6 separate regions of the Homo sapiens genome follow, and regions 2, 3, 4, 5 and 6 are each linked to region 1. The links are contacts of gene promoters, found by promoter capture Hi-C in blood cells and fetal thymus (Javierre and others, 2016). All regions are on one chromosome and are shown on one strand. The core of a region is centred on a gene start or on the middle of the fragment in contact, and the rest is flanking DNA. Distances in the headings are between cores, read along the strand shown.

The links. Contacts are between HindIII fragments. The CHiCAGO score rates a contact against its expected background, and 5 or more counts as called.
Region 2: a fragment that was not itself captured here is called in contact with the fragment with the promoter of ZNF548 in region 1 in 3 of 17 cell types (naive CD8 T cells, total CD4 T cells and neutrophils); the score reaches 8.2 in naive CD8 T cells.
Region 3: a contact is called between a fragment that was not itself captured here and the fragment with the promoter of ZNF548 in region 1, in 2 of 17 cell types (total CD4 T cells and non-activated CD4 T cells). The highest score is 6.0, in total CD4 T cells.
Region 4: a contact is called between the fragment with the promoter of ZNF835 here and the fragment with the promoter of ZNF548 in region 1, in 7 of 17 cell types (non-activated CD4 T cells, naive CD8 T cells, total CD8 T cells and 4 more). The highest score is 7.4, in non-activated CD4 T cells.
Region 5: a contact is called between the fragment with the promoter of ZNF256 here and the fragment with the promoter of ZNF548 in region 1, in 3 of 17 cell types (total B cells, total CD8 T cells and naive CD8 T cells). The highest score is 5.5, in total B cells.
Region 6: a fragment that was not itself captured here is called in contact with the fragment with the promoter of ZNF548 in region 1 in 1 of 17 cell types (naive CD4 T cells); the score reaches 5.6 in naive CD4 T cells.

Annotation. Positions count from the first base shown.
Region 1 is chr19:57,386,927-57,391,946 of GRCh38, forward strand. ZNF548 (zinc finger protein 548) reads left to right here and starts at 2,928. Exons shown (of 4, transcript NM_001172773.2): 1 at 2,928-3,188. The coding sequence starts at 3,174. RefSeq lists enhancers at 2,486-2,565, 2,706-3,185. The HindIII fragment of the contact is 17,908 bases long and covers 2,469-5,020 here.
Region 2 is chr19:58,128,016-58,133,035 of GRCh38, forward strand. ZNF329 (zinc finger protein 329) reads right to left here. Exons shown (of 4, transcript NM_024620.4): 4 at 1-1,496. The coding sequence starts at 1,488. Among named protein-coding and RNA genes, the nearest start is that of ZNF329, 20 kb to the right of the region's middle. The HindIII fragment of the contact is 2,632 bases long and covers 1,534-4,165 here.
Region 3 is chr19:58,100,805-58,105,824 of GRCh38, forward strand. It overlaps a transcript of ZSCAN18 not described here. Among named protein-coding and RNA genes, the nearest start is that of ZSCAN18, 5.1 kb to the left of the region's middle. The HindIII fragment of the contact is 167 bases long and covers 2,977-3,143 here.
Region 4 is chr19:56,669,745-56,674,764 of GRCh38, forward strand. ZNF835 (zinc finger protein 835) reads right to left here and starts at 2,013. Exons shown (of 2, transcript NM_001005850.3): 1 at 1,832-2,013. LOC105372473 (a long non-coding RNA gene) reads left to right here and starts at 2,235. Exons shown (of 4, transcript XR_936110.4): 1 at 2,235-2,687. The HindIII fragment of the contact is 4,177 bases long and covers 1-2,107 here.
Region 5 is chr19:57,945,414-57,950,433 of GRCh38, forward strand. ZNF256 (zinc finger protein 256) reads right to left here and starts at 2,293. Exons shown (of 3, transcript NM_005773.3): 1 at 2,029-2,293. The coding sequence starts at 2,061. RefSeq lists enhancers at 1,702-1,781, 2,272-2,371, 2,442-2,531. The HindIII fragment of the contact is 12,388 bases long and covers 1-5,020 here.
Region 6 is chr19:57,918,067-57,923,086 of GRCh38, forward strand. It overlaps ZNF418 (zinc finger protein 418), which reads right to left. Exons shown (of 6, transcript NM_133460.3): 6 at 3,816-4,563. Among named protein-coding and RNA genes, the nearest start is that of ZNF417, 4.0 kb to the left of the region's middle. The HindIII fragment of the contact is 881 bases long and covers 2,329-3,209 here.

The sequences.
Region 1 (5,020 bases), core at 1,678-4,177:
TTCCAATGTTTGAGGTGGGGCCTAATAGGAGGTGTTCTGGTCATGAGGGTAGATCCTACCTGAATACCCCCACTTGAAGATGTGTAAATTCTCACTCTATTAGTTCCCAAGAAAGCTGGTTGTTGAAAAGAGCCTGATACACTCCCCACCCACTGTCCTCCTCTCTTGCAATATGATTCCTTCGCATTATAGCTCTCTTTCGTTTTCCACCATGAATAGAACCCGCCGAAGACCCTCACCAGATGCAGATGCCCAATTTTAAACTTTCCACACATCAACATTTTGAGCCAAATAAACATTTTTTTCTTTATAAATTACCAGCTTCAGGTATTCATTTATAGCAACGCTAACTGGACTAAGACATCATAAGTATTATCTAGATATTTGTTTGTGAGGATATGATTTTCAACTCATGTTGCCAATGAGTAATTTAACGGCCAGTTACAGTCTGAGAAAAATGTGTCTCCCACTGGTGATTCTTTGTAATATATTACAACCAGCTGATATGTAGGATATGTAGGCCATTCTGATAAGTCAATACAGGATTCAGGAAAAATCGTTATATATAGGTCATATTCTTAAACTGTGCCCAGGTCTTAATTAATAATTAGCAATGACACAGAGGGGACACTGCCATCAAAAGAAAAGATTAATGTTACAGTTCCCTGGAAATAAGAGGCACTGAACACCACACAGGCCACAAGAAACCTTATTACATACAGAGACTGGAAAGCAGAAAGAGAAAACAGAGTAACTGGAAGTATGTCTTTATAACTAAAGTGGCAGAGAATGATGAGGTAGAGATACCGTCGATGGGCAGGAAGGAAAAACACATTTTAGTGTTTGTGGTTGGGGGGTTTTATATGAGTTTCATGCACTTGAGTAAGTGGCTTGCAAGAAAAAAAGTAAACAACTTTGGTTCTATTAGTTTGACCCTGTGATTAATGAATATCAAACAGACAAATACAGAATCTAAGAAAACATAGAACAGTCCTGTATACACATAGCAGCTGGGAAACCTATTCCCAGTGTGTCCCATGCACCTATCATTGATCTGAAACCCAATACATATGTGCTCATTGAACATTTACTAGAGAAGTAAATACACATTATCACACAGCTTCTCTATTCATTTTTATCTGTGGCAAGTCTTTCAGTTTATCATCTGTACTTACCCCTCTAAGCAGTTAATGAGCAATGTTTTCAAGTGTGTAAAAAAATTACATTTTGGAAACAAAAGCATAGTGTGTCCAAGTGTCCAGCAGAGCCACAGGTTCAACTTCATTCTCTGACTTCTCAGAATTTGCTGTCTCTCACTCAAACATTGAGATCTTATCTTTTTCTCACATTACAGATCGATTTCTCTAGGGCTTCTGGTTTTTTTTCTTTTGGAATAACCTACATAATTACTAATAGATTTCGGTAATTTTTTTATTTCACAAGTGTTTTTCACATTTCGACTCCCTGTGCAAATACAGTTGTAAACACAGGTGAAATTTTAAATCACTTCTGAGGAAGAAGATAACATCATGGAATTCCACACCTTTTTTGAGGATAAGATGTGCATATGCTTCAACTATGAAAACGGTAGACAATGTTGTCCAGAAATGGCATGTATCAGCTGCTCTTGAGAAATAAAAATAAAATTCTAAGCACCCCCTAACTGACTGAATGGATGCCCTCTTGACCATGAGAACCCTAGAATAACTTTGGAAGCTGAATTCACCACTATAGAGGAACGGGAAATCAGACACACCTCATTATATCCCCTACCACACTACAATCATTAGGTTTTCTTCCCTAAGGGCTAAATAGAAATCAACCTTTTCAGAAGACTACTAGCTTATCTTCCAAGGTACAGAACAGAGAGAAGATGAGATTATTCATTCCTTCATCCTTCTCTGAGACATCTTCTTTATTCCCTTTTCCCCTCACGTGTTTACTCTATCTTATGTAAAATGTAGATTTACTGGGCACTAACTAAAGTTTCACATGTCTGTAATCATTTGTCTCACTGCCAACCCCTCTTCCTTTTTAAGGAAAATGTATAATAAATACTAAACCTCCTAAGAACCTCTTTGGAAAAACCAGCCACAGATGCTTCTGTGACTTACATTTTTCTGGATGTGCCCTTAGGCTGGTCCAGTAATCCTCCATGATTTGTGACTTATGCCTCAATCACTCATTTTGGTCGTCACTCTCATTTTCAGATAGGATTGTGATTCTTAAAATAAATGGAAAATATCTCAGATATGAAGTAGTAAGTATTATTAGAATAAAAGCGTTGCACCCTTCGTAGGAACACAATCGCTGACTCTACAGTCAGGTAAGATGTATTCTCTTTGATCCAGAGGCATAGCTTCACCCTTTCAACCTACTTCAGCGTCTCCTGTCATCCTTCCTACAAATTCCAGTCCATAGCCCTAACTGCGTAGTCTTTCTTTCTTCTTCTGGACCAAACATATTGAAGCTTACTAAACAGACGCCAAAGCGTAACTGTATGTGTATTTGAAAAGCAATAATATGGCTGGCAGGCATGAGTAGAGGCAGACTGCCTTTATGGTATGGGGTGTCTCTTTGGACCTGTAGTTATTGGGAATTAGCTGTGCTTAATAGAGTCTTAAGTAATAAGTTGCTAACATTTCTGTAAATATCCTATACTACAATCCAAAAAAATACCGTATGTTGCCTTTAAGAGCAAGCCAAGCCCCCTCCTGTCTTTGGAGTCGGGGACTCCGTTTCCCAGCTCCCCTGACAGTGCCACTGGGCCTTTATCTGCCATATAAGGACTGATCAACGCTCTAAGACAAGTCCGGAAGCGGTGTCGAAACTTCATAACCCAGAAGACACTGCAGCTCTCGGCGGCACGACTTACCCAATAAAGGCTTAGAAGGGGACGTTTGCGTGCGTGCGCACCGTCGGAGGGCGGGACTTCCGCCGTCCTCCTGGTGGTGGTCGTTTTGGTTCTGTGTGGTGTTTCACCAACTTCGGCCTATGGCTCTGTCTGACGTCACCGAAGTGACGGAACGGAAAAGCGCGAGAAGCGGCTCGGTTCCCACCACGGAGAGGCGGGAGTGAGTCAACTGACAAGCGCTGGGGACAGTGGCGTCCTTGTCTTGCCTTTGTCGCTCCCGCCCCGCTCTTCCCTGGCTGGGCTGGCGGAGGCCTTGCTGATGAACCTGACTGAGGTGGGTGTCCCGTCCCAGGCTCCCCCGCCCGACCGGTCCTCCCAGTGCTGAAGCCCCCTGAAGGGGCCCTGCAGGTCAGGCCCCTTGTCCCGAAGAGAGGGGCGTTCCTGTGTGGGGTCCCCGTATCAGCCGATTTGATGCAGCCTCAGAGCTCCCGTTAGGGACCTCAGGTTCAGAGCATGGAGGCGCTGCCGAGTGGGCTGTGTTGGGGCGTCAGGGGTGTGTGTTGTTTCTGCGGGAAAGAGAGGGTTTTGTGAATTCTCGCTTGGAATGGCAACCTGAGCAGCCAGTAACCATGGAAGGTTGTCAAGGGAGGGACAGTTGGAGGGGGCAGGTCCAGAGTTCGAAGTTTCAAGTTAGGAAAACCAGGTTAGGAATGGACACAGGGAGACGCGAAAAGGCCCTGAGGCCACTGCAGTAGACCCAGGAGAATTATGGTTGGGGCTGGACCAGTGACAGTAGAGGGAGATGTGATGAGATTCTTCATAGGCCTGAAAGATAGGGCCCGTAGGTTTTCCTGGTGCTTCAGTTATGTCTGAACAAAGGCAGTGAAGAACCGTTTCAAGTGTTTGTTTTGTTTTTTGTTTTCTGTTTGAACGTTTGGAAGAATGGAGTTGGGGAAGTCAGCATAAAGAGCAGATTTCCGGGAGAAGATCACAGGTTGGATTTTGGACATGGTGATTCTCAAATGTCTCAAGATGGATATGTCACACAGACAGGTGGACATAAAGGTGTGGAGTCTGAGGAAGGGGATTGGGTTGGCGATACCAGACGGATGGAGGGCTTGGACTGGGCCAGAGAATGGTCTGAGGATCAGATTGAGTAGGTCGGTCTCGGGTTTTTTTTGTTTGTTTGTTTGCATAAATTTAAGGAGTCAAGTGCAGTTTTGTTATATGGATATATTTGCATAGTGGTCAAGTCTGGGCTTTTAATGTATCCATCGCCTGAATAATGTACATTGTATCCATTAAGTAATTTTTCATCACTCATCTTCGTCTCATCCTTCTACCTGTTTGGAGTCTCCAATGTTTGTCATTCCACACTCTTTGTCCATGTGTACACATTATTCAGCTTCCACTTGTAAGTGAGAACATTTGGTATTTGACTTTCTGTTTCTGAGTTGTTTCATTTAATAATGGCCTCCAGTTCCATCCACATTGCTGTAAAAGACATAGTTTCATGCTTTTTTTTTTTTTTGTGGCCTAGTGGTATTACCTTGTGTATATATATGCCACATTTTCTTTACCCAGTCATACATTGATGGATAATTGGTTAATTCCCTATCTTTGCTATTGTGAATAGTGCTGTGATAAAAATACATGTTTTTTTTAATGTAATGATTTATTTTCCTTTGGGTAGATGCCCAGTAGTGGAATTGGTGGATTTAATGGCAGTTCTATTTTCAGTTATTTGAAAAATCTTCATACTGTTTTCCATTGAGGTTGTACTTATTTACATTCTCACCAACAGTGTGTAACCTTTTTCTCTTCTCCATATCCTGGGCAACATCAGTTGTTTTTTGACATTTAAATGATAGCCATTCTGACTGGTGTAAGGAGATACTGTGGTTTTAATTTGAATTTGTCTGATGATTAATGATGTTGAGCATTTTTTTATATGCCTGCTTGCGATTTATGTGTCTTCTTTTTGAAAAATGTCTGCCCTGTGCTTACTGTTTTTTTTTTTTTTTTTTTTTTGAAATGGAGTCTCGCTCCGTCGCCCAGGCTGGAGTGCAGTGGCGCGATCTCGGCTCACTGCAACCTCCACCTCCCAGGTTAGTTCAAGCAATTCTGCTGCCTCAGCCTCCCAAGTAGCTGGGATTACAGGTGCCC
Region 2 (5,020 bases), core at 1,600-4,099, 740 kb after region 1:
AGAGTTCTGCTTGAAGGACTTCCCACATTCTGGACACTGATATGGGGTCTCCTTAGTGTGAATTCTCTGGTGCTTGGTCAGACAGGAGCTGTCCCTGAAGGCTTTGCCACACTGATTACACTCATAGGGCTTCTCACCAGTATGAGTCCTCTGGTGCCTAATGAGGCCAGCGATATTCCTGAAAAGTTTCTGACACTGGTTGCAGCCATAGGGCTTCTCGCCAGTATGAATCCTCTGATGCCTGATGAGGTACGCACTCTCGATGAAAGTCTTGCCACATTCTTTACATTCATAGGGTTTCTCCCCAGAATGGATCTTTTGATGCACAATGAGGTGAGAGTTTCTGTTGAAGGATTTCCCGCACTCTGCACACTCAAAGGGCTTTTCTCCAGTGTGAGTCCTCTCATGCTGGGTGAGGTACGAGCCGTCCCGGAAAGCCTTTCCACATTTGCTACACTCATAGGGCTTCTCACCGGTGTGGATTCTGAGATGCACTGTAAGGTGGGAGATGTCAGTGAAGGGTTTCCCACATTCGTTACATCTATATGGTTTTTCCCCTGTATGAGTTCTTTGGTGCAAAATTAAGGATGAATTTCGGTTGAAGGTTTTTCCACACTCTAGGCATTCATAAGGTTTCTCGCCTGTGTGAATTCTCTGGTGCTGTGTCAGAGCTGAGCCATCACTGAAAGCTTTCCCACATTTACTGCATTCATAGGGCTTCTCTCCTGTGTGGATTCTTTGATGCACAATCAGGTTGTAGTTCTTGGAGAAGGACTTTCCACACTCATTACAAGTATAAGGCTTCTCTCCGGTGTGAGTTCGGTGATGCAAAACAAGAGAAGAGTTCCGTTTGAAGCATTTGCCACATTCAGTACATCTATATTGTTTCTCTCCAGGGAGATTTCTCTGGTTTTCATTAAGCGATGAGCTCAGAGTAAAGATGTTCTCAAAATTCTTACCTTCATACGATTTCTTGCCTCTTTTCATTATTTTCTGATGACCAAGAGAGGTAAAATGATTAAAAGACTTAACACTTTCAGGGTATTTGTAGGGCTTCTCTCTCACTGGATTTCTTCCATGAATAACTTCCATGGAATGGTTGAAGCCTTTTCCACAGGCATCACTGTCACCAGTTCTCTTATCTGCATAACTTTTAGGATAGCTGGGTAAGGCGGGGTCACAATCCAGACCACTAACATTTGAGTCAGGTGCATGGAAACCATTTGTTGCCAGAACTCTCTGAGACGGTGGAAGGTCTGAGCTTGCAATCAAATGCTCCCCAAAACCAGGATATTCACAAATTGCTTCCTGAGTCCCTGGTTTCTCCAGAGTTAAAGCTGATTGCCTCAAGTGTCCCTCCTGGTTCTCACAGTCCCAACCATCACCTAAACTGGACAAGCAGGGAACTTCCCTTGTGAATCTTTCCACTTCTACATCACAGGGTACTTCTCTCTCAGGAAAATTCCGAGTCGTCATTTTCAATCTCATATCCCAAACTGCAAAAAGAAGAAAAATGCAGACTTAGGTATATGAAGCTTTATCTGTAAGAGAAACAGACAATGATGATGGGCTAGGTGTAAAGATGTGTATTTTTTTACTTGTTTTCTCTTTTAAATTCAAATTTATACAAGGAAGAGGTAAAATCGTAGCCAAGGAATGGAACCAAGAACAGATTCAAAAAGAGCCATGTAGCATTTTCATCTTCCTAGAGAGCAGGCAGGAGGAATGGACCTCGGGATAAATCATCACCAAAAGGATTAGTTTGAGATGTGAGAGACCAGAGGCCAAGCATCCCTGCTCCCCCTAGAATTCCATCCCAGCCACTGCATTCTTGTCCCTGTCACACACTGCCCATCAGTACACATTTCCAAAGCTCTGACTTCACAATGAGCTTACAACAGCACTGAAGGAACAGTTCTCACCCCAGCTCTGTCATCAAAGTTCTGCATTCATGGATAGGACAAAGCACAGGCTTGGTGACCTAAAAGTTCTGGGTCTAAGTCTTAGAACTGTCAATGACCTGGCGGGGCACAGTGGTTCACTCCTGTAATCCCAGCACTTTGGGAAGTGGAGGCAGGTGGATCATTTGAAGTCAGGAGTTCAAGACCAGCCTGACCAACATGGTGAAACACCGTCTCTACTAAAAATACAAAAAAAATCAGCCAGGCGTGGTGGCACATGCCTGTAGTCCCAGCTACTCTGGAGGCTGAGGCAGGAGAATCACTTCAACCTGGTAGGCAGAGGTTGCAGTGAGCTGAGATCACACCACTGCACTCCAGCCTACGCGGCAGAGTGAGACTCCATCTCAAAAAACAAAACAAAACAAAAACTGTCAAAGACTGCCCTGCATGGTTGTTATAAAAACTGGATCATGTCGGCCAGGCGCGGTGGTCACGCCTGTAATCCCAGCACTTTGGGAGGCCGAGGTGGGCAGATCACAAGGTCAGGAGATTGAGACCATCCTGGCTAACGTGGTGAAACCCCGTCTCTACTAAAAAAATACAAACAATTAGCCAGGCGTGGTGGCGGGCGCCTGTAGTCCCAGCTACTCGGGAGGCTGAGGCAGGAGAATGGCGCGAACCCGGGAGGCGGAGCTTGCAGTGAGCCAAGATCGTGCCACTGCACTCCAGCCTGGGCCACAGAGCAAGACTCCGTCTCAAAAAAAAAAAAAAAAAAAAACTGGATCATGTACAAAGCAGTCTCCAAGGCTAGGGGATGAAGGGCATTCTGTAAATGGTTGCATGTGTCTTCATGCATATCAATCTTCCTGTCACCATCCTTGTCCATTCAGACTTCACAATATTAAGACAACTGGTTGTCCATTCATTCGTTCATTCATTTGGTGGGATCGGGTCTCGCTCTGTCATTCAGGCTGAAGTGCAGTGGTGTGATCTTGGTTCACTGAAGCCTCAATCTCAAAAACTTCAAGCAATTATCCCACCTCAGCCTCCCAAAATGCTGCAAATACAGGGATGAGCCATTGTGCCCAGCCTTCTTTCTATTTTTTAAGGTAAAATGAAAATAGACCCTTGCCTCAGAATACATACATACATATATGTCTACATTCTAGGCAATTTAAATATATATACATGTATATGTGTATATGTGTGTGTGTGTGTGTGTGTGCGCGTGTATTTACATTTCAGAAGGATACAGGCTGCAACATAAAGTCAAAGTTTAAATAATGTAGTATGCCTTCATAAGTGTGGCAGACTTTGATCAACAAAACTTAACCAAAAAACCATATGGCCAAGCATTGGGGGTCATGCCTGTAATCCCAGCACTCTGGGAGGCTGAAGTGGGAGTTATCACTTGAGCCCACACAGAAGGCTGAGGCTGCAGTGAGCTGTAATTGTGCCACTGCATTCCAGATTGGGCAAAAGAGACCATGTCTTAAAAACAAAAAACAAAAACCAAAAAATAAAAAACAGACAAGGATTAAGAAGTCTGATATCAGCATTCAAATTTTCCATCCAATAAAAGACACAATAAGAGACAAAATGCAAGTGGCAGATAGGGAGAAAATAGGACTTAAAAGCACAAAGAATTATTGCCCAAGAGCTATAGAGGATTCTTACAGAGAGAAAATAAGATTTAAAAGCACAAAGAATTACTGCCCAAGAACTACAGAGGATTCTTACAGAACAGCACATAAAAAGAAAAAAAATGGGCAAAGTAATCAAAGAGCACTTCGTGAAGGGAAAATAGAAATGTCCTGAAAACATTGGCTGGGAGCAGTGGGTCACGCCTGTAATCCCAGCACTTTGGGAGGCTGAGGCAGGTGGACCACAAGGTCAGGAGATCGAGACCATCCTGGCTGACACGGTGAAACCCCGTCTCTATTAAAAATACAAAAAATTAGCCAGGCGTGGTGGCGGGCGCCTGTAGTCCCAGCTACTTGGGAGGCTGAGGCAGGAGAATGGCATGAACCCGGGAGGCAGAGCTTGCAGTGAGCCGCGATAGCGCCACTGCACTCCAGCCTGGGCAACAGGGCGAGACTCTGCCTCAAAAAAAAAAAAAAAAGAAAGAAAAAAAAGAAATGTCCTGAAAACATCAATATTTATTTTCTCATTCTATCATTCAGGCAATTCCAAACTGCGACTTTAAGAACACAAAATATACACATTTCACGTGAGTAAAAATAAAATGAAGTACAATAATATAAAGCTTTGGTAGGTCACAAGGGAAGAGGGCTTGGAAAGTGGTCAGCGTGCTTGGCAGGGTACCTTAGTGGCAGCTGTGAAAACATAAACTGGGGGCAGGCGCGGTGGCTCACGCCTATAATTCCAGCAGTTTGGGAGGCTGAGGTGGGTGGATCACCTGAGCTCAGGAGTTCGAGACCAGCCTGACTAACATGGTGAAACCCCACCTCCACTAAAAATACAAAAATTAAGCCAGGCACAGTGGCTCACGCCTGTAATCCCAGCACTTTGGGAGGCTGAGGCAGGTGGATCACCTAAGGTCAGGAGTTCAAGACCAGCCTGGGCAACTATGTCTCTACTAAAAATACAAAAATTAGCTGGACGCGGTGGCGCATGCATGTAATCCCAGCTACTCGGGAGGCTGAGGTAGGAGAATCGCTTGAGCCTAGGAGGCAGAGGTTGCAGTGAGACAAGATTATACCATTGCACTCCAGCCTGGGGGACAGAGCGAGACTCCGTCTGAAAAAAAAAAAAAAAAAAGAAAACATAAATTAGGTATATTCTACCACCCAGCAGTTCCACTGGTAGGTATCTCAGAGTCAGAAAGCTGGATAAACGAACATCAATCCATACCTACGTAGATAGATGGTCTTTTTCTTTTTTCTTTTTTTTTGAGACAGAGTCTTGCACTGTCACCCAGGCTGGAGTGCAGTGGTGCGATCTCAGCTCACAGCAAGCTCCGCCTCCCAGGTTCACGCCATTCTCCTGCCTCAGCCTCCCCAGTAGCTGGGACTACAGGTGTCTGCCACCACGCCCAGCTAATTTTTTGTACTTTTAGTAGAGACAGGGTTTCACTATGTTAGCCAGGATGGTCTCGA
Region 3 (5,020 bases), core at 1,810-4,309, 710 kb after region 1:
GCAGGGGCTGCAGTGAGTTGAGATCGCACCACTGCACTCCAGCCTGGGCAAAAGAGCAAAACTCCATCTAAAAAAAAAAAGAAAAAAGATGAAATGTAGGTTTTATTACACCACAGATGGCCAATTGTTCTTGCACCATCTGGAAAAGGCTATCTTTCCTGCATTGAATAGCTTTTGCTCCTTAAAAAATCAGTCAGGAATATCTTTGCAGGTCTATTTCCGGGTTCTCGATTCCGTTCCACTGATCTATGTGTCTGCCAATACCACATTGGGTTACCACGGCTACAGAGTAACAACATCAGGTGCAGTTATTCCTCCCACTTTTTTTTTTTTTTTTTTTTTTTTTGAGACAGAGTCTTGCTCAGTTGCCCAGGCTGGAGCGCAGTGGCGCGATCTCGGCTCACCGCAAGCTCCACCTCCCGGGTTCACGCCATTCTCCTGCCTCAGCCTCCCGAATAGCTGGGACTACAGGCGCCCGCCACCATGCCCAGCTAATTTTTTTTTTTTTTTTTTTTTTTGTATTTTTAGTAGAGACAGGGTTTCACCATGTTAGCCAGGATGGTCTCGATCTCCTGACCTCATGATCCACCCGCCTTGGCCTCCCAAAGTGCTGGGATTACAGGCATGAGCCACTGCGCCCGGCCACTTTTTTTCTTTTTCAAAGTTATTTTAACTATTCCAAGTCTTGTGCTTTCCCATATACTTTATCTTCTTCTTTTTTTTTTTTTTTTTTGAGACAGAGTCTTGCTCTGTCACCCAGGTTGGAGTGCAGTGATGCAATTTCAGCTCACTGTAAACTCTGCCTCCTGGGTTCAAGTGGTTCTTCTGCCTCAGCCTCCTGAGTAGCTGGGATTACAGGTATGTGCTACCATGCCTGGCTAATTTTTGTATTTTTAGTAGAGACGGGGTTTCACCATGTTGACCAGGCTGGTCTCAAACTCTTGACCTCAGGTGATTCGCCCACCTTGGCCTCCCAAAGTGCTAGGATTACAGGTGTGAGCCACCGCACCCAGCCTTTTTTTTTTCTTTGTTTTTTGAGACAGAATCTCACTCCTAACCATGCTGCTAATATTTACATGGTCCTGCACCAGTGTGTTCATGTAATTTCACATAACTTTTTTCTTTAATTAGGGTTGAGTTTCCTATATAGGCCTTCTAAGCAGCCAGAGATCACACACTTAAATGAGCACCTATTAGCTTCCAGGCATATTATGTTTTCTTTTATAAATAAAAGCCTCAAAATGCACACATGCATACACACACACACGATTACTGACCAAAAGGTATTTCAGTATAAAAGCTAGAGTAGAAGCTCCATAAGGACGGTGACTTTTCCCTGTTTAGGCAGCTTACTAAAAAACCCCATATACTCAGCCGGGCGCAGTGGTTCACGCCTGTAATCCCAGCAATTTGGGAGGCCGAGGTGGGCTGCTCACGAGGTCAGGAGATTGAGACCATCCTGGCTAACACGGTGAAACCCTGTCTCTACCAAGAAAATACAAAAAAATTAGCCGGGCATGGTGGCGGGCGCCTGTAGTCCCAGCTACTAGGGAGGCTGAGGCAGGAGAATGGTGTGAACCCGGGAGGCAGAGCTTGCAGAGAGCCAAGATCACGCAACTGCACTCCAGCCTGGGCGACAGAGCAAGACTCCATCTCAAAACAAACAAACAAACAAACAAACAAACAAACCATATACTCTTCTGTGCTGTTTGGCTTCCCCCCACATTATGAACTTTAAAAATCTTGCAATAAAATAACAATTATGGCTGACACAGGCTATAAGAAAGAAGGCAGGTAACAATGATTATTCAGCAAGGTAGGAAGGACTACAATGGCACACAGACTTGCCATTTTGTACTGCATCGGATATGTCAATGTTAATTGTCATCTCAGCAACAAGATTTTTTCCTTGAGAGTTGTATTTCTCCTCAAATGGACTCTCACTAGTCATTCAATTCCTCCTTCTGATATTACTCTTATTTCATTGATTCCAAGATAACAGATGGTAACATGTACATTTTATGTGCTAATAAAAGGCTGCCTGAGGCCTAGCACAGTGCCTCACACCTGTAATCTCAGCACTTTGGGAGGCCGAGGTGGGTGGACCACCTGAGGTCAGGAGTTCAAGACCAGCCTGGCAAAACCTCGTCTCTACTACAATACAGAAATTAGCTGGGTGTGGTGGTGTGCACCTCTAATCTCAGCTACTTGGGAGGCCGAGGCAGCAGAATCGCTTGAACCTGGCAGGTGGAGGCTACAGTGAGCCAAGATAGCACCACTGTACTCCAGCCTGGGTGACACAGCGAGACTCTCTCTAAAAAAAAATAAAAAAATAAAAAAAGGCTGCCAATTAAACCATATCACTGATTAACCTGGTTTGTTTTCAGATGTTAAAATATGGCAAGATATGTATCACAGAATAAAGGAAATACGGTAAGTCTTTAGGTTCTGTGTCACGACTAACTTCCAGATATAGGCATTACCTTGTTTTCTTGCACTTTGCTTAATTATCCTATGCAGATATTGCATTTTTTACAAGTTGAAGGTTTGTGGCAACCTGTGTCAATTAAGTCTATTGTCACCATTTATCAAACAGCATATGCTCTCTGTGTCTCTGTGTCACATTTTGGTAATTCTCACAATACTTCAAACTATTGCATTATTATTATCTGTTATGGTGATCTGTGATCAGTAATTTTTGTTGTAACTATTGTAATTGTTCTGGAGTGAAAGGAACCACGCCTATATAAGACAATGAACTCAGCAGATAAATGTTGTGTGTCCTGATTCCTCCACCAACCTGCCATTGCTCGCTGGTACGCACTCTCTCTCAATCTCTTTCCTCAGGCCTCCCTATTCCCTGAGACAAAACAATATTGAACTTAGGCCAGTTAATAACCCTACAATGGCCACTAAGTGTTCAAGTGAAAGGCAGAGTCAGACCTCTAACTTCAAATCAAAAGCTAGAAATGATTAAGCTTAGTAAGGAAGGCGTGTCAAAGACAGGCCAAAACTTAGCCCTCTTGTGCCAAACAGCCAAATTGTGATGGCCAAGAGAAAAACTTGAGGGAAATGAAAAGTGTGACTCCAGTGAATATGTGAATGACAAGAAACTGAAACAGCCTTGTCGCCAATAGGGAGAAAGCTTTAATGGTCTGGATAGGAGATCAAACTACCCAAAGAGAACTAACATTCTCTTAAGCCAAAGCCTAATCCAGAGCAAGGTCCTGACTCTCTTCATTTCTATGAAGGCTGTGAGAGGCGAGGAAGATGCAGAAGAAAATTCTGAGCCGGCCAGGCACAGTGGCTCATGCCTGTAATCCCAACACTTTGGGAGGCCAAGCGGGATGGATCACCTGAGGTCAGCAGTTCAAGACCAGCTTAGCCAACATGGTGAAACCCCACCTCTACTAAAAATACAAAAATTAGCTGGGCATGGTGGCGTGCGCCTGTAGTCCCAGCTACTCAGGAGTCTGAGGCAGGAGAATTGCTTGAACCTGGGAGGCGAAGGTTGCAGTGAGCTGAGATCGTGCCACTGCACTCCAGCCTGGGCAACAGAGTGAGGCTGTCTCAAAAACAAAACAAAACAAAACAAAACAAAAAAAAAGTCTGGGCCGGGTGTGGTGGCTCATGCCTGTAATACCAGCACTTTGGGAGGCAGAGATGGGCAGATCACCTGAGGTCAGGAGTTTGAGAACAGCTTGGTCAACGTGGCGAAACCCCATCTCTGCTAAAAATACAAAAAAAATTAGCCAGGCATGGTGGCAAGTGCCTGTAATCCCTGCTACTCAAGAGGCTGAGGCATGAGAATTGCTTGAACCCAGGTGGCAGAGGTTGGCAGTGAGCCGAGATCATGCCACTGCACACTAGCCTAGGCAAAAGAGTGAGACTCCATCTCAATAAAATAAAATAAAATAAAATAAAATAAAATAAAATAAAATAAAAAAGTCTGAAGCTAGCAGAGGTTGGTTCATGAAGTTTAAGTCATCTCCGTAACATAAAAGTGCAAGGTGAAGCAGCAAGTGCTAATGCAGAAGCTGCAGCAAGTTCTCCAGATTTAGCTAAGATCACTGAGGAAGGTCGCTACAGTAGACAACAGTTTAAATGTAAAGAAAACAGCCTTCTGTTGGAAGAAATGCCAGGTAGTGTTTTCACAACTAGAAAGAAGTCAGTGCCTAGCTTCAAAGCTTTAAAGAACAGGCCGACTCTTGTTAAGGGCTAATGCAACTGGTGACTTTAAGTTGAAACCAAAGCTCATTTACCATTCTGAAAACCCTAGGGCCTTAAGATTTAAGTTAAATCTACTCTGAGTGCTGTCTATAAATGTAAACAAAGCCTGGATGACAGTACGTGTTTACAGTATGGTGTACTGAATATTTTAAACCCACTGTTGAGAGACTTCCTCCTGAGAAAAAAAGATTCAAATTATGGCTGCTCACTGACAAGAGCTCTGATGAAGACATAGAAGGAAATTAATGTTGTTCTCGCAACTGCCAACACAACGTGTATTCTGCAGCCCATGGACCAAGGAGTAATAATTTTGCCTTTCCAGTCTTCTTATTTAAGAATGCAGTTTAGCTGGCCCAGGCGCAGTGGCCTGTAATCCCAGCACTTTGGGAGGCTGAGACAGGTGGATCACGAGGTCAGGAGATCGAGACCATCCTGGCTAACACAGTGAAACCCAGTCTCTACTAAAAATACAAAAAATTAGCCGGGCGTGGTGGCGGGTGCCTGTAGTCCCAGCTACTCGGGAGGCTGAGGCAGGAGAATGGCATGAACCCGGAAGGCAGAGCTTGCAGTGAGCAGAGATCGCACCACTGCACTCCAGCCTGGGCAACAGAGTGAGACTCCGTCTCAAAAAAATAAAAAATAAAAAAGAAGAATGCAGTTTGCAGCTATGCGTGGTGGCTCATGCCTGTATTCCCAGCACTTTGGGAGGTTGAAGCAGGTGGATTACTTGAGCTTAGGAGTTTAAGACTAGCCTGGCCAACATGGTGAAACCCTATCTCTACTAAAAATA
Region 4 (5,020 bases), core at 763-3,262, 720 kb before region 1:
ACCAGGAGTCCTCCATTAGCATAAATGTACTTGGGGGCCTATCAGGAGTCCTCCATTAGCATAAATGTACTTGGGGGCCTATCAGGAGTCCTCCATTAGCATAAATGTACTTGGGGGCCTACCAGGAGTCCTCCATTAGCATAAATGTACTTGGGGGCCTATCAGGAGTCCTCCATTAGCATAAATGTACTTGGGGGCCTATCAGGAGTCCTCCATTAGCATAAATGTACTTGGGGGCCTATCAGGAGTCCTCCATTAGCATAAATGTACTTGGGGGCCTACCAGGAGTCCTCCATTAGCATAAATGTACTTGGGGGCCTATCAGGAGTCCTCCATTAGCATAAATGTACTTGGGGGCCTATCAGGAGTCCTCCATTAGCATAAATGTACTTGGGGGCCTATCAGGAGTCCTCCATTAGCATAAACACAGGTGTGGTTGCAGGGGGCTTATTAAGAGTTGCAGAAGACACTCCTTCTACCCCTGTCACTCAGGAAATTCCAAGGGTTTTAGGGGCTCTGGTACCAGGAGCTGGGGATAAAGATTAAACATATATTTCTTATTATATCACAAGATCACAGGAAGACACATGCATTACATCACACTCTGACACACACAGGGTCATACACAATCATACCTGCCCAGACACACACAGACATGCAGAGACACCCAAACCCATATCCAGGGACACACAGTCGCCCTCCTAACCCCCATGCAAGGAGGCAGGTGGGAAGCCATCACCTGCAGCCACACTCACACATGCACACAGGGTCCCGGGCACACGTAGCTACACACACACCCAGCCCCACACGTAGCTCCCTGTGTGAAGAGGTGCACAGAGACGCACAAGGTCACACATGCCACCTGCTCCACACAGGCCGGCCATTACTGGGACACACCCACAGGGGATGGCTGGACACATGTGCAGTCACACTCGGTGGATAGAGCTCCAGCATAGCCAAAGCCCACATGTGCAGCGTCTCCATCATGTGCAGATGCACACACTTCAGACAGCACGGCACTCTACAGGCTCGCACAGCCAGGTCACCCATCATTGTGCTGGCAGGCACACGGGCCGAGCCAGCCTACACGGCGGCACACCCAGACATGCACACGTGGGGTCACACACCTCACATCCAGGAGAACTTTCAGACTTGCCCAAAGGCAGCCACACGTGTATGTGACATGCTGTGATATGCAGACACCGCTTCACATGAACGAGCACATAACACACCGATAAAGTGTTACATGCCTTTACCTGCAGTCACCTGCCTGGGCTGGCACCACTGAGTGAGCAGGTGCAGACACAGTGACACTCGGGGACGGGCTCACAGGCAGTCACACACCTGCAAGGCCTGGCACCGCCGAGTGAGCAGGTACAGACACAGTGATGGGCTGGCACCGCCAAGTGAGCAGGGGCAGACGCTGTGACACTCAGGGACGGGCTCACAGGCAGTCACACACCTGCACCTGCTGGTACCGTCGAGTGAGCAGGTGCAGACGCTGTGACACTCAGGGACAGGCTCACAGCCAGTCACACACCTGCACGGCCTGGCACCGCCAAGTGAGCAGGTACAGACACAGTGACGGGCTGGCACCGCCGAGTAAGCAGGTGCAGATGCAGTGACAGGCTCACAGGCAGTCACACACCTGCACCTGCTGGTACCGTCGAGTGACCAGGTGCAGACGCTGTGTTACTCAGGGACGGGCTCACAGGCAGTCACACACCTATACGGGCTGACACCGCTAAGTGAACAGGTGCAGACACAATGGCACTCGGGGACGGGCTCACACGCGGTCACACACCTGCAGGAACACGCGCACACTACACACCGTTGCTCTCGCCTCCCGGTATCACCTTCGAACGCGCTGGCCGGCCCCCTCCTAGCCTGGTGCAGTCGGCTCCGCTTCTACTCAGTCTCGGGTCCTCCTGGGCCAACGCAGACCCTGGTGCCTCCTTCCTTAGACGAGCTAAGGTCAAGACTTCTGCTGCTGCGGAGGAGCCCGCGCACCAGGCCGGGGTGGACTGCGCCTGCGCATCGGGCCCGCCTGGTTCTTAGGAACTACGACTCCCAGGGGGCGCTGCGCGCTCGCCGGCACCGCGACTAAAGCTTGCAAAGCCTGGGTCATCGAAACTACAACTCCCAGAAGGCTAAGCGTCTGCACACGCTAGGTCCGCAGGGCGCTGACCCCTGGGGGCCCGAGGAGCGCCGGGCTGCTGCCCCGAGCCCCGCCCACTACAGCCTCAGTGCATGGCGGTGGGCGCTTCCAGTAACTCAGGGGTGGGACTTTTTTCTTGCTCAGGGGATGAGGCCGAGCCCACAGGCTTAGAAAGAAGGAACTTGAGTCCGGGCACCTGTCATCCCAGCGCTTAGGGAGGCCGAGGCGGGTGGATCACCTGAGGTCAGGAGTTCGAGACCAGCCTGGCCAATATGGCGAAACCCCCGTCTCTACTAAAAATACAAAAATTAGCCGAGCATGGTGGCATGCACTTCCAGCTACTTGGAAGGCTGAGGCGGGAGAATGGCTTGAACCTGGGAGGCGAGGGTTGCAGTGAGCTGAGATCGCACCACTGCACTCCAGCCTGGGTGACAGAGCGAGACTTCGTCTCAAAAAAAAAGAAGAAGAAAGAAGGAAGCTGAGGTTCAGACAGGCTAAGTCCCTACTGCAGGCTGCGGAATCTAAAAAGGTAGGTGCCAGGGTTTGCAACCCACACTTTTATTTTGGTCTCAGGTAGCTGATGTCATTCCAGTCTATGGCAAAGAAGGTGGCAAATCCATTAACATAGATGAAGAATTTCATTTTACTTTTTAGTTTTATTTATTTATTTATTTTTATTATGTATCATGCTTTTAATACAAACTTTAAAAAATCTGGAACAATAGAAACTGTACAGATTTGATCAATCTTTTTGTTTTGTTTTTAAACTAAAATCTCTAAACACACCAATGTCCTATTCCAAAATATTGCACAACATTCTGAATACAAAACCCTTGATTGTATTCCTCCTTCACTGAAGAAAAAACTTCATGACCCTGCTCCCCGGGCTCCTCTCCAGGCTTGCGTCAATGCCCCCTTCCCATCCCTAGGGAGAAAACTAGAGAATCTATAACTCACTGCATTGAGAAAAAGACATCATTCTGGACTAACAGTTTCCATTCTTCAGAAGATAATCCACCTTTTGATTTGTTCCTGGGAAACAGGGATAGATAGAGGATGGGGAAAGGGGAGAAAAGGTTTTATTTCTCCTCTTTTTTTTTTAAAGTTTGTTTTTCCTGAAAAAATATGTTTCTCTCATCTTTTTAAGAAAAAATCTTGAAAAGAAAAAAATTGTTTTTACGTTAGAAATATACATATATTATATATACCTCTTACATTTTACAAATGTAGCAAATTATTCAATACAAACGGACACCAAAAAATGTAAAAAATAAAAAAAAGTTTTCCTAAGAACCAGGTAAATTAGTGCAGATTTCTGTTTTTGTTTTCTTAAAAAAAATAAAATTGAAGCAAAAGTGCCTAGATTTGAGACAAGACAGACTGAACTGGGCCCAAGAGCCCAGCACTGGAGTCATGCTCCTGAACACACATTTTTCTTCGTATTTCAAAAGACACAAAGGGGTTGGTCTCCCCCCCTCTCCCTACATGTGAGAAACAAGCAGACCTGGTGTGGGTGGGTGCCTGTGTGTGTGGATGGGAGGAGGGATAGAAGGGGATGTAAGGCAGCATCCAACCTTTCCCAGAGAGAAGCTATCTGCTGGGCCTGTCACCTGTGTGGGAGCCGAGGATGAGGGAAAGGGTGGCCCAGACTGGGCTGGCCCCTGAGAAGTCTAGGGGAACAGATGGTGCTGGGCTGAGAAGCCAGGACATTGCCTGCCGGGGGAGGTAGAGCTGGTGCCTACTGCAGGGAGAGGAGGCTGGCAGTGCCGGCCTGGGCTGGACCCACTGCCATAGCAGTTGCCTACTTGGGGTCCCTGGGTAGGATGGAGTGGGTGGGGTGCCAGGGGCTTTGGTGCTTTCTGGTGATGGGACCCTGATGCCAAGTGCCCACTTTGCAAAGATGAAAAAGTTCATGACCCTGCTCCCTTGGCTCCTGTCCATGCTTGCCTGGCCTCCTGGGGTTGGAGGAACAAGCTCTCTCCTGGCAGAGGCAGGAGAGAGTTTTATTTTTTAGAAACAGTTTCGCTTTGTTGCACAGGCTGGAGTGCAGTGGTACAATCACGGCTCACTGCATCCTCGACCTCCCCAACTCTAGTGATCCTCCCATCTTAGCCTCCTGAGTAGCTGAGATTGCAGGCATGTGCCACCACACTGGCTAACTTTTTTTTAACTTTTATTTTTTGTAGAGATGAGGTGTCGCTATGTTGCCCTGGCTAGTCTTGAACTCCAATCCTTCCACCTCGGCCTTAAATAATTTTAATAGTTGACATGCACATGGCATTTACTATTGGCCGGCATTATTTTAAGGTGCCTGCTCTGAAGGAATTCTGTTAGCCTTCCTAAATTATTCCCTTGGCCATTGGAAACATAGGCATGAGATCATTTTTAGATAATTGGAAAAGCAGAGAAATCTGTGAAGATAGAATGGGAAAAAAAATGCATTTCACTAAACCAACATGCCATTGATTGTGAGATTCCACATTACTTTATGTAGCCCCACGGCTGCCCTTAAACCATGACACATGCTTTATTTACAGTTCATATTTTACTTATTCGTAGACCTCAAGAGGCATTCTGTGCTTCCCTCTTCCTTCTGGAAGCTTCATGAGAAGGGACATTTTCCTCAAAGGATGGACAACAGAAACAACTCAAATATTCATTTCCTTTAAATATGGTTTTTAAGACAATTTTCTTTAGAAAGCCACATTTACCTGTTGGGGGTTGATTTATGCTCACCCCCCTCCCAAATATATGTTGGAATGCTAACCCCCTATTCCTCAGAATGTGACTTTATTTGGAGACAGGTTCTTTACAGAGGTAATAAAGTTAAAATGAGTAAATAGGGTGGGCCATAACCCAAAA
Region 5 (5,020 bases), core at 1,043-3,542, 560 kb after region 1:
ACAAAGTAATAAGCAGGAACTGTTCTGGTTCCCTGGATAAGAATGGATAAGAAGGGTTCATTTGGCTAAGAGAGCTTATTCATGGGAGCAAAGTGGGAAGGGGAATTTGTTCTCAGGCCATCTAAGGCTGTATCGTTTTCATCAGATGTCAAGGCGACATATCATACTGGGCCTTAATTTCCGGCCTTATACCGCAACTTGGCAGGCAGCATCCAGAGTGTGGATATAAACAGGATCCAAAATCCCAGACTTCCCACAGCTTACACTAGTGGAAGCAGCCTCAAAAATTTCTTTGAAGGCCTCCCTGCCAGGCTGTATTCCTTGCCTCAGACATAGCCACACAGAACCACAGGTGAATCACAGATAACCATGGCCCTATTCCACTTCTGTGCTGCACTTACCATCCCCTTGAGAGTCATATATCCACCTAAAGCTCATTTAAATCCCAGCCTCACTGGTCGTTCATCTCACACACAATGACTCTCACAAATGACCACATGACACTAACTTAATCTTCCAGCCTGAATGAAACACCCAGGCCCCATCAAGTTATCACAAAATCCTGGATACCCATAAAGTGGTGAATAAGCACGAGTTTTGGCCTGAGTGTCCTATGCGTTTGCATCCATCTCATGTCCATTCTTCTCTTGGGAGCCGTGGCCACTGCCAAACTACACTGTCTTTTACATACCTTGCCTTCATGACCACTTACTCTATCATCATCCTCCCAGTCTTGGCCCACTAACAGCTTTACAACCAAAACCTGGAGCTTGCCCCGCCTAACTGTGACCCACAGCTCACTAACCTTGGTGCGCACAACAGCCACATCTTGAATATCTGCACCCTGAACCACTCCCTAGATTTCAAGACCGGCACGTTCATCTGCCCACTTAACGCCTCCATTTAGTAGGCTCTGAAAGATCTGACTCTTAGCATGGCATAAACAAACCTGATATCCCTAGTGAATATTACTCCTATTGCCAATTTGTTCATCTTAGTTGATGAAACTTCTTTCCCTACAGCTGCTAATACCAAAAACCCTGGAGTCTTCTCTGAACCCTCTGTTTCACTCCCTCACCACCTACATTATGTAATTTAGTTGTCCCTTTTGAAACCACACATCCGGAATCTAACCACATCTCCTAAATCACGATCCTGGGCCAGTAACCCTCACTTGGACTAGTCTACCCTGATTTTCCTTCCTCCTCCCTCAACCCCCCAGTTTGTGCCCCACTGTGCACACAGATGAAGCCTGTGAAGACCTTGGTAAATTACCTCTTTTTTCTGATTCAAACTTGCTATTACCTCCTGAAAACACACTCAACTTCTCAGGCAGCCACTGCAGTCCTGACGCCTATCCTCCTGTTCTTTGCTTCCCACCAGAAAGCAAGGAGACTTGTGGCTTCATAAATGCACCCAGCTCCGTACTGCACCTAAGCATTTGCACATCTTGTACCTTTCTGGAAAAACTTTCCACACCCGTTCACATGGCTGCCAGAAATTGGAACAACTCTATATACCGGCTAACATGGACATAGGACCCTGGGCTTGGGGTTCACCCAAGGTCTTCAGAACTAAGGGCTGGGGGAATGGCACTCCACAACCCAGAGAACCTGTGGGTGGGAGTTAGGGCTAGTGAGAGACTGGGAAACCCTCCCCTTCCTGGCGTAGATTTCATAACCCTTTACAGCCAAGGGAAACGTAGAAAGAGCCAGGCCTCAGAGAAGAGCATCTATGGCGGTATTAGATGGGCTCAAGCCACCCCGTAGCCCCATGCCTGGCCTTGGAGCCGGGTGCCCTCGCAATGGCTGTGTCACCTCTGTGCCCCAGGGCTCAGTGGCGCCTCTCATCAGGGGCTCCTTGCCAGTCGCGCCCTCCCTTCCCTAGCACACCAGGTGTTGGAAACGGGAGCCCCTCCGGCGAGCCCCCGTGTCCTGTCCTGGGCAGCAGGGCCGCGAGCAAGCGCCCTCGGGGGTGCTAGGACTAGCGTGGGGAGGGCGGGGAAGGCCCAGAGGACGCGGCACATACCTGGGCCGGGGCCGTCAGCTCGGCCGCCGCCATCTGACTCTGTGAGCGGAGCGGGGCCAGAGAGGATGTCCTTATTCCGGGCCGGGCCTGGGTACCCTGGGCGCCGCCGAGCCTCAGCCACGCCTCTGTGCAGCGGGGAAGACTCCTCTCGCGCCTTCTCAGTCAGTCACGGATGATGCTGACCCAGCGCTCCGGGGCTTTCTACCAAGTAATCAGTCCAGACAAATGCCAAAACGACCGCCACAAGGAGGACAACGGAAGTCCCGCCGCGACCGCGCGTGCGCTTACGGAAACACCACCTTTCGGAGGCCTCATTGGCTGAAGGTCGCCGTCGCCCAACGCAGGCCATTCTGGGTAATGTTCCCACAGGCGCACGGCGGGAGAGTGAGGGTCGCCTCCACCTCCTTCCGGAAGTAAAGGCCAAACCCCTGTAGGGGGCGCTGGGAAATGGACACTCCAGGTTGGGGCGGAGGCGAGGCTTCGTTCTTTCTTAAAGGAGACGTACCCAGGTTTCTACCGATTGCTGTCTGCCAGTGTTTGTTTGGAGACGTGTCATTTCATGTGTTCCCAGAGGCACATATCCAGATGCACATATTATTACATACAGTCAGTCAGTCACAAAATATATCCACTGGTTGAGAAAGCAAATAAATATGACTATGTTGCGGCCGGGCGCGGTGGCTCACGCCTGTAATTCCAGCACTTTGGGAGGTCGAGGCGGGCGGATCACGAGGTCAGGAGATCGAGACCATCCTGGCTAACTCAGCGAAACCCCGTCTCTAAAATACAAAAAATACCACAAAAAAAAAAAAAAAAAGAAAAATTAGCTGGGTGTGGTGGCGGGCGCCTGTAGTCCCCAGCTACTCCGGAGGCTGAGGCAGGAAAATAGCTTGAACCCGGGAGGCAGAGCTTGCAGTGAGCCGAGATCGCGCCACTGCACTCCAGCCTGGGGGAAAGAGCGAGCCACTGTCTCAAAAAAAAAAAAAAAAAAAAAAAAAAAAAAAGACTATGTTGCAATTCAAACGCATGCACTCAAGCACTGGAGTCAGTTTTCTCAGTCTCTGTATGTTTGATTAGGGACAAGAAAAAAAACACTCCACACAGGTTCATGACAAAGAGGATGAAGGTGGGATGCGGAGGCACCCTGCAGCAGCAGGACATAAGTAGATCCCTGTCTCTGGGTCCCTCTCGTGCCTGTGTAGTCAAACATTGTGTCCAATTCACTAAGCAACACTTGCATGAATCTAATCTCACTTTCTCCATGCCTTTATATTCACTTCTTTTTAATAATTTGACATCAAGCTCAGAAAGAGAACAACAAAAGGAATGGTATTTTGAAAAGGCATGATGGCTAGCTAGAGCATTAACAGGTGGAACAAAGGGTGCTCTGAATCCCAAATGTAGGGTGTATCTTAAATTCAAGATCTCTTCTCAACGCTGAAATGATTATCTTTGCCCCCATTAGTTACGCTCTTGTTGCCCAGGCTGGAGTGCAATGGTGCGATCTCGGCTCACCACAACCTCTGTCTCCCGGGTTCAAGCGATTCTCCTGCCTCAGCTTCCCAAGTAGCTGGAATTACAGGCGCCCGCCACCGTACCCGGCTAATCTTTTTTTTTTTTTTTTTTTTTTGTATTTGTATTTTTAGTAGAGACGGAGTTTCGCCATATTGGCCAGGCTGGTCTCGAACTCCTGACCTCAGGTGATCCACCCACCTCGGCCTCCCAAAGTGCTGGGATTACAGGCGTGAGCCACTGTGCCCGGCCCTTTGCCCCCATTATTATAGGGCTGTTCTGCATAAAAAATTGATACGATATCAGAAAAAGAATTGTAAAATACAAATTACAGAAAGCTACTAATAATGGGTGTCGCTTCGCCAGCCAGAAACCTCTGTGGTCGCGCCTCTGCTTGAGTTTTGCTCACACCCGCTGGGCTTGTTCCACCCACTCGGCCCAGCAGGCTGCACCTGGATCCCACACCTACCAAGGGCGAGCCAGGCGCGGAGCCGCAAGGGGTGTGTGAGCGAGCAAGTGAAGGGTCCAGCCAGTGCACACAGCCAGGCACGCTGGCTGCTGCGGCGGGGCGGGCAGCTCCAGGCGCTGGCACAGGCGCCGGCTCCTTGCAAGTCTGCGACTGGACCAGACATACTGCAGGCGGCTTCTGCTGCAGGCACCAGCATCTAGACGAGGGAAAAATGGTGGCGCCGGAAAGCTCGGAGACACCAAGAACAGCAGAACCCCAAAGAGGGTGTTGCAGCATGTCACAGCCCTGGCTCCGGAGTCTCGAGGCCTGGGCTCCCGGAAGAGCCACAGCTCTTCTCTCCTTCCCGTTGCTTGCAGCCTGGCAAGCGGGGAGGTGTGTTTTGGGTGGGGTGTGTTTTCAGCTTGTTTGTGATATAGCTCTTTCAGTCCCGCTGCCCTGCTCTGGCTCGCTGCTGCTTCCCATCGTGGGGGGCGGCCACCCAGTGCTGGCTGAGGGCAGGAGGGCTATAGTGTTACAGCTCTGGCTCGGGGAATCCCAAAGTCTGGGCCTCCAGAAGAGTCGCCATTTTTCACTCATGCAGCCCAGAAGCATGGCTACTCAGCCAGGAATGTGTTACAGCCCCTTTCTCTCCTGCTGTTCGTTAGGTCCCAAGTTCTTGTCCCCCAAGTTCTTATCCCACGTCCAGGAAGAATGAGGTTATGCAGACAACTGGAGGGTGAGCAAGGCAGAGAAGGGTTTTATTGGACAACCCAACAGCCCTCAGGAAACCTGAAGGGAGTAGCTCACACCTGCATACAGATAGTCTCCGATGTCTGAGTCTGGCTGAGTCTACAGGTTTTTTATGGGCTCAGAATGGAGAAAGTGTGTGCTCATTGGTCCATGGGTGGTAGGAAGTGCATGCTGATTGGCCCATGGGCAGTCATGGGCGGGCCTGGGAAAAACACCATACCATTGGCCGAAAGGCGTCAAGGAATTTCTCTCTCTGGGTCACAGACTCCACCTGGAACTGGC
Region 6 (5,020 bases), core at 1,519-4,018, 530 kb after region 1:
CTCCTGCCTTAGCCTCCCGAGTAGCTGGGAGTACAGGCACGTGGCATCACGCCAATTTTTGTAGTTTCAGTACAGACGGGGGTTTCACCTTGTTTAGGATGGTCTCGATCTCCCTCGTGATCTGCCTGCCTCACCCTCCAATGTGTTGGGGTTACAGGCATGAGTCACCACACCTGGCCAGCAAAATAAACTATTTAAATTAACTGAGACCTGTCTCAAATTTGGGGGGTTCACAAATCATTATAGCGTTCAATTAATTGAACAACACTTTTTCCCACTTAGTATCCTTTACTTGATATTCTAACTTACATTCAACTCCTTTTAGTAATTTGACATCAGTCTTATAAAGAACAATAAGGCTGGGCACGGTGGCTCACGCCTGTAATCCTCGCACTTTGGGAGGCCGAGGCAGGCGGATCACCAGTTCAGGAGATCGAGACCATCCTGGCTAACATGGTGAAACCCCGTCTCTACTAAAAATACAAAAAAAAAATTAGCCGGGTGTGGTGGCACACGCCTGTAGTCCCAGCTACTCGGGAGGCTAAGGCAGGAGAATCACTTGAACCCGGGAGGCAGAGGTTGCTGTGAGCTGAGATCGCGCCATTGCACTGCAGCCTGGCGACAGAGCGAGACTCTCTCAAACAAAGAAACAAAAAACAATAAAATAAATGGTATCTTGGTAGTAGTGATGGCTACAGTCTGTAAAAAGTAAAGTACAGGTTCCTCTTCAAAGACTTTCCTCCCATCTAATTAGGAATAAATAGTAACTTCTCTTAGAAGCAAAATTTATTCAAAGACCTGTGCTAACATTCTTAAATATCTTCTAGCCGTAATTAAAAAAATCCATGTACTTTATGTTCTTAGCTCCCACAATTTAGCCTAAATATTTGCCCTGGCATGTTTACACTGGTCCAAGCAAGCATTGTCATAGCCTGTTCCTCTTATTTGAAGGTGTTTTTGCCTTTCTTAGCATTCCATAAGTTAATTCCTCCTTCGTTTTCCTCTTGCCTTTGCCTCTTTTAAAAATGTTCTAAGTTGCTAGTCAATCAGGACAAATACAGAATGTGAATTTGTATTTAGCCAGTGGAAACCGGACACAGCAGTAAGGTGGATGCGTCAGGCAGGTTATAAATGACCCTGTCTCCTTTGTTCAGTGTAATCTCACAGCAAAACTGCTGGCGAGTATACCGTTTCTGCAGAAAGTAAAAATGGCCTTGCTGAGGAAATTAAATTTATGTTCAATGCTATTTCTTTCTTTCTTTTTTTTTTTTTGAGACGGAGTTTCGCTCTTGTTGCCCAGGCTGGAGAGCAATGGCGCGATCTTGGCTCACCACAACCTCCGTCTCCCAGGTTCAAGTGATTCTCCTGCCTCAGCCTCCTGAGTAGTTAGGATTATAGGCATGCGCCACCATGCCCAGCTAATTTTGTATTTTTAGTAGAGATGGGGTCTCTCCATCTTGGTCAGGCTGGTCTTGAACTCCCGACCTCAGGTGATCCTCCCACCTCGGCCTCCCAAAGTGCTGGGATTATAGGCATGAGCCACCGCGCCCGGCCAAGTCAAGTGCTATTTCTTTACGGCACTAAAGAACAAGCATTTCAAACAGTACTTAAAGTTGGTGCTCTCCATCTGTTCATACTGGGCATTTGTAAAAGCCATGAGTTCATGTCATTGATGGGAAGTGATTATCATTGATTTGAGAGGAGGGAGTGTTCTGCATGAAAAATTAATATTACATAAGAGAAACAGTTGTAAATTGCAAGATACAAAAGCCTATTAATACTGACTAGGTAGGCTGGGCGTGGTGGCTCACGCCTGTAATCCCAGCACTTTGGGAGGCCGAGGTGGGCAGATCACAAGGTCAGGAGATCGAGACCATCCTGGCTAAGACGGTGAAACCCCGTCTCTACTAAAAATACAAAAAATTAGCCAGGCCTGGTGGCAGGTGCCTGTAGTCCCAGCTACAGGGGAGGCTGAGGCAAGAGAAACGCGTGAATCCAGGAGACGGAGCTTGGAGTGAGCGGAGATCACGCCACTGCACTCCAGCCTAGGCATCTCAAAAAAAAAATTAGCCAGGCGTGGTAGCAAGTGCCTGTAGTCCCAGCTACTTGGGAGGCTGAGACAGAAGAACTGCTTGAACCCGGGAGGCAGAGGTTGTAGTGAGCCTAGATCGTGCAATTGCACTACAGCCTGGGCGACAGAGCGAGACTCCGTCTCTCTCCCGCTCCCCCAAAAATATAAAAAGCAAAAAACAAGAAAACATTGACTAGGTAATTATTAAACAGTTTTGACAGAAGTGGGTCTATGGAAACATCAGTAGATGGTGAAAAAGCTTAGGACCTCAGAGAAATGTTAGCACCAATGTCCAAGAGATTAAATTATGCTCAGCACATAATTGGAATGGTCAGTCTGATGGTTTTGGCTTTAAAATGAGATTCTTCTTCTTCTTTTTTTTTTTTTTGAGGCAGAGTCTCACTCTGTCACCCAGGCTGGAGTGCAGTGGTGCGATCTCAGCTCACTGCAACCTCCGCCTCCCGGGTTCAAGCGATTCTCCTACCGGGTGTGGTGGCTCATGCCTGTAATTCTAGCACTTTGGGGGGCTGAGGCGGGTGGCTCGCCTGAGGTCAGGAGTTCAAGACCAGCCTGGCCAACATGGTGAAACCCTGTCTCTACTAAAAATACAAAAATTAGCTGGGTATGGTTATGGTGGCGCACACCTGTAATCCCAGCTACTTGGGAGGTTGAGGCAAGAGAATCACTTGAACCCAGGAGTCAGAGGTTGCAGTGAGCAGAGGTTGCACCACTGCACTCCAGCCTGGGTGACAGAGTGAGACTATGTCTCAAAAAAATAAATAAATACATAAAAAGATGCCTCAGCCTCCAGAGTAGATGGGATTACAGACATCCACCACCACGCCCAGCAAATTTTTGGATTTTTAGAAGAGACGAGGTTTCACCATGTTGGCAAGGCTGGTATCGAACTCCTGACCTCAGGCGATCCACCTGCCTCGGCCTACCAAATGCTGGGATTACAGGCGTTAGCCACCATGCTTGGTCGATCCCTTTTGAATTAAGTTGGTTCATACAATCCTCCATCCAACCTCATGGCATGATAGGTAATTTTCTCACAACGGAATACTTGTTTTCTGAAAGGAGTTGTTTATAGGTTAAGCAAAACCAATTTAAGAGCTTTCAGCAAAGTAATATGAAAAGCTTCTGTTAATTTCGCCAGGTGAGAGACAGGGTCTTACTCTGCTGTCTAGGATAGAGTGCAATGGGGCAATCATGGCCCACTGTAACCTCAAATCCCTGGGCTCAAATGATCCTCCCACCTCAGTCTCCCACACAGCTAGGACTATAGGCATTTGCCACCATGCCCAGCTGTTTTGGTAGAGACAGGGTTGTGCTGTGTTGCCCGGCTGGTCTCTATCATGCTTGATCCCTACCCTGTTGACTTCAACAAGGATGGCACCATGTCCAAGAACTGAATGAGAGCCAGAGCTAGAAAATGAGACATAGAGCTAGGCGTGTGGCTCACGCCTGTAATCCCAGCACTTTGGGAGGCCAAGGCAGGCGGATCACCTGAGGTTGGGAGTTCGAGACCACCGTGATCAAAACGCAGAAACCCCGTCTCTACTAAAAATACAAAATTAGCCGGGTGTAGTGGCACATGCCTGTAATCCCTGCTACTTGGGAGGCTGAGGCAGGAGAATCGCTTGAACCGGGAGGTGGAGGTTGCAGTGAGCCGAGATCACGCCACTGCACTCCAGCCTGGGCAACAGGAGCGAAACTCCATCTCAAAAAAGAAAGAAAGAAAGAAAATGAGACATAGGGTTTATTGAGGACTTAGATACAGGGCAGTCCAGGAGCGGCAGGCTGGACAAAAAAACCACTATCATTTGAAAGAAGCATGCAGTTTATATAGTATTTTCACTTATCACCCTCCGCCTAGCTCAAAACAAAGGGCCTCATTCCAAGGAACAGGCCAGGGGTTCAGAAACCTCCAGGTTGGCCACTCCTGGATTTCTTCGTTTGGAACGCTGAACCAACACTCTTCTTAGACCACAGGGTCATTCTTAGGGTGTGCTTGAGTTACTGCTGTCAGATATATCTGTTATACAGTGTCGAACTCCTGGCCTCCAGGATGTTCTTGCCTTAGTCTCCCAAAACACTGGAATTAAAGGCATGAGTCCCTGTACATGACGAGATGGGCTTTTATTAACCTCTTTGTTAGTTTCATCAATCGAGAAGAGAGGGGAGGGTATGCAAAATAAAAATGTTAGAAAATGGGCCACACTTTACAAATTGAGATTATGTCTCCAGTTAAATGAGTTCCCCTATTGCTGTGTAATTCACAAGAAATTCTCCAAGAGGGAGTTACCAATTCAACACATATTTACCCATGACTTCCACGGTGGCTCTTCTGTAAGGAAATGCTTGAACCCAAAGAGAGAACATGCAGATCATAATCAGTTCATATTTATAATCTTGGGCTGGAGGCAAATGCATACAGTTTACCAAATATGAAAAGGTGAGGTGGGCAAAGGGAAATGCCCTTGAGATCCCTGAAAAGAAAGAAAATTCAGTTATACATTTGATACTTAAATATATGGGACACCACTTTGTTAAATTGCAAGAAAAAAACCAAAAGCATGCCAGGCACAGTGGCTCATCCTGTAATCTTAGCATTTTGAGAGGCCAAGGTGGGAAGATCCCTTGAGCTCAGGAGTTTTGAGAGCAGCCTGGGCAACATAGTGAGACCTAATCTCTACAGAAAAATTTTAAAAATTAGCTGTGCGTGGTGGCACATGCCTGTCCCTAGCAACTTGGGAGGCTGAGGTGGGAGGATGACTTGAGTCCAGCAGGTCAAGGCTGCAGTGAATTGTGATTGTGTCACTGTACTCCAGCCTGGGCAACAGAGTGACACTGTCTCAAAAAAAAAAAAAAAAAAAGGGCCAGGCACTATGGCTCATGCCTGAAATCCCAGCACTTTGGGAGGCCGAGGCGGGCAGATCATCACAA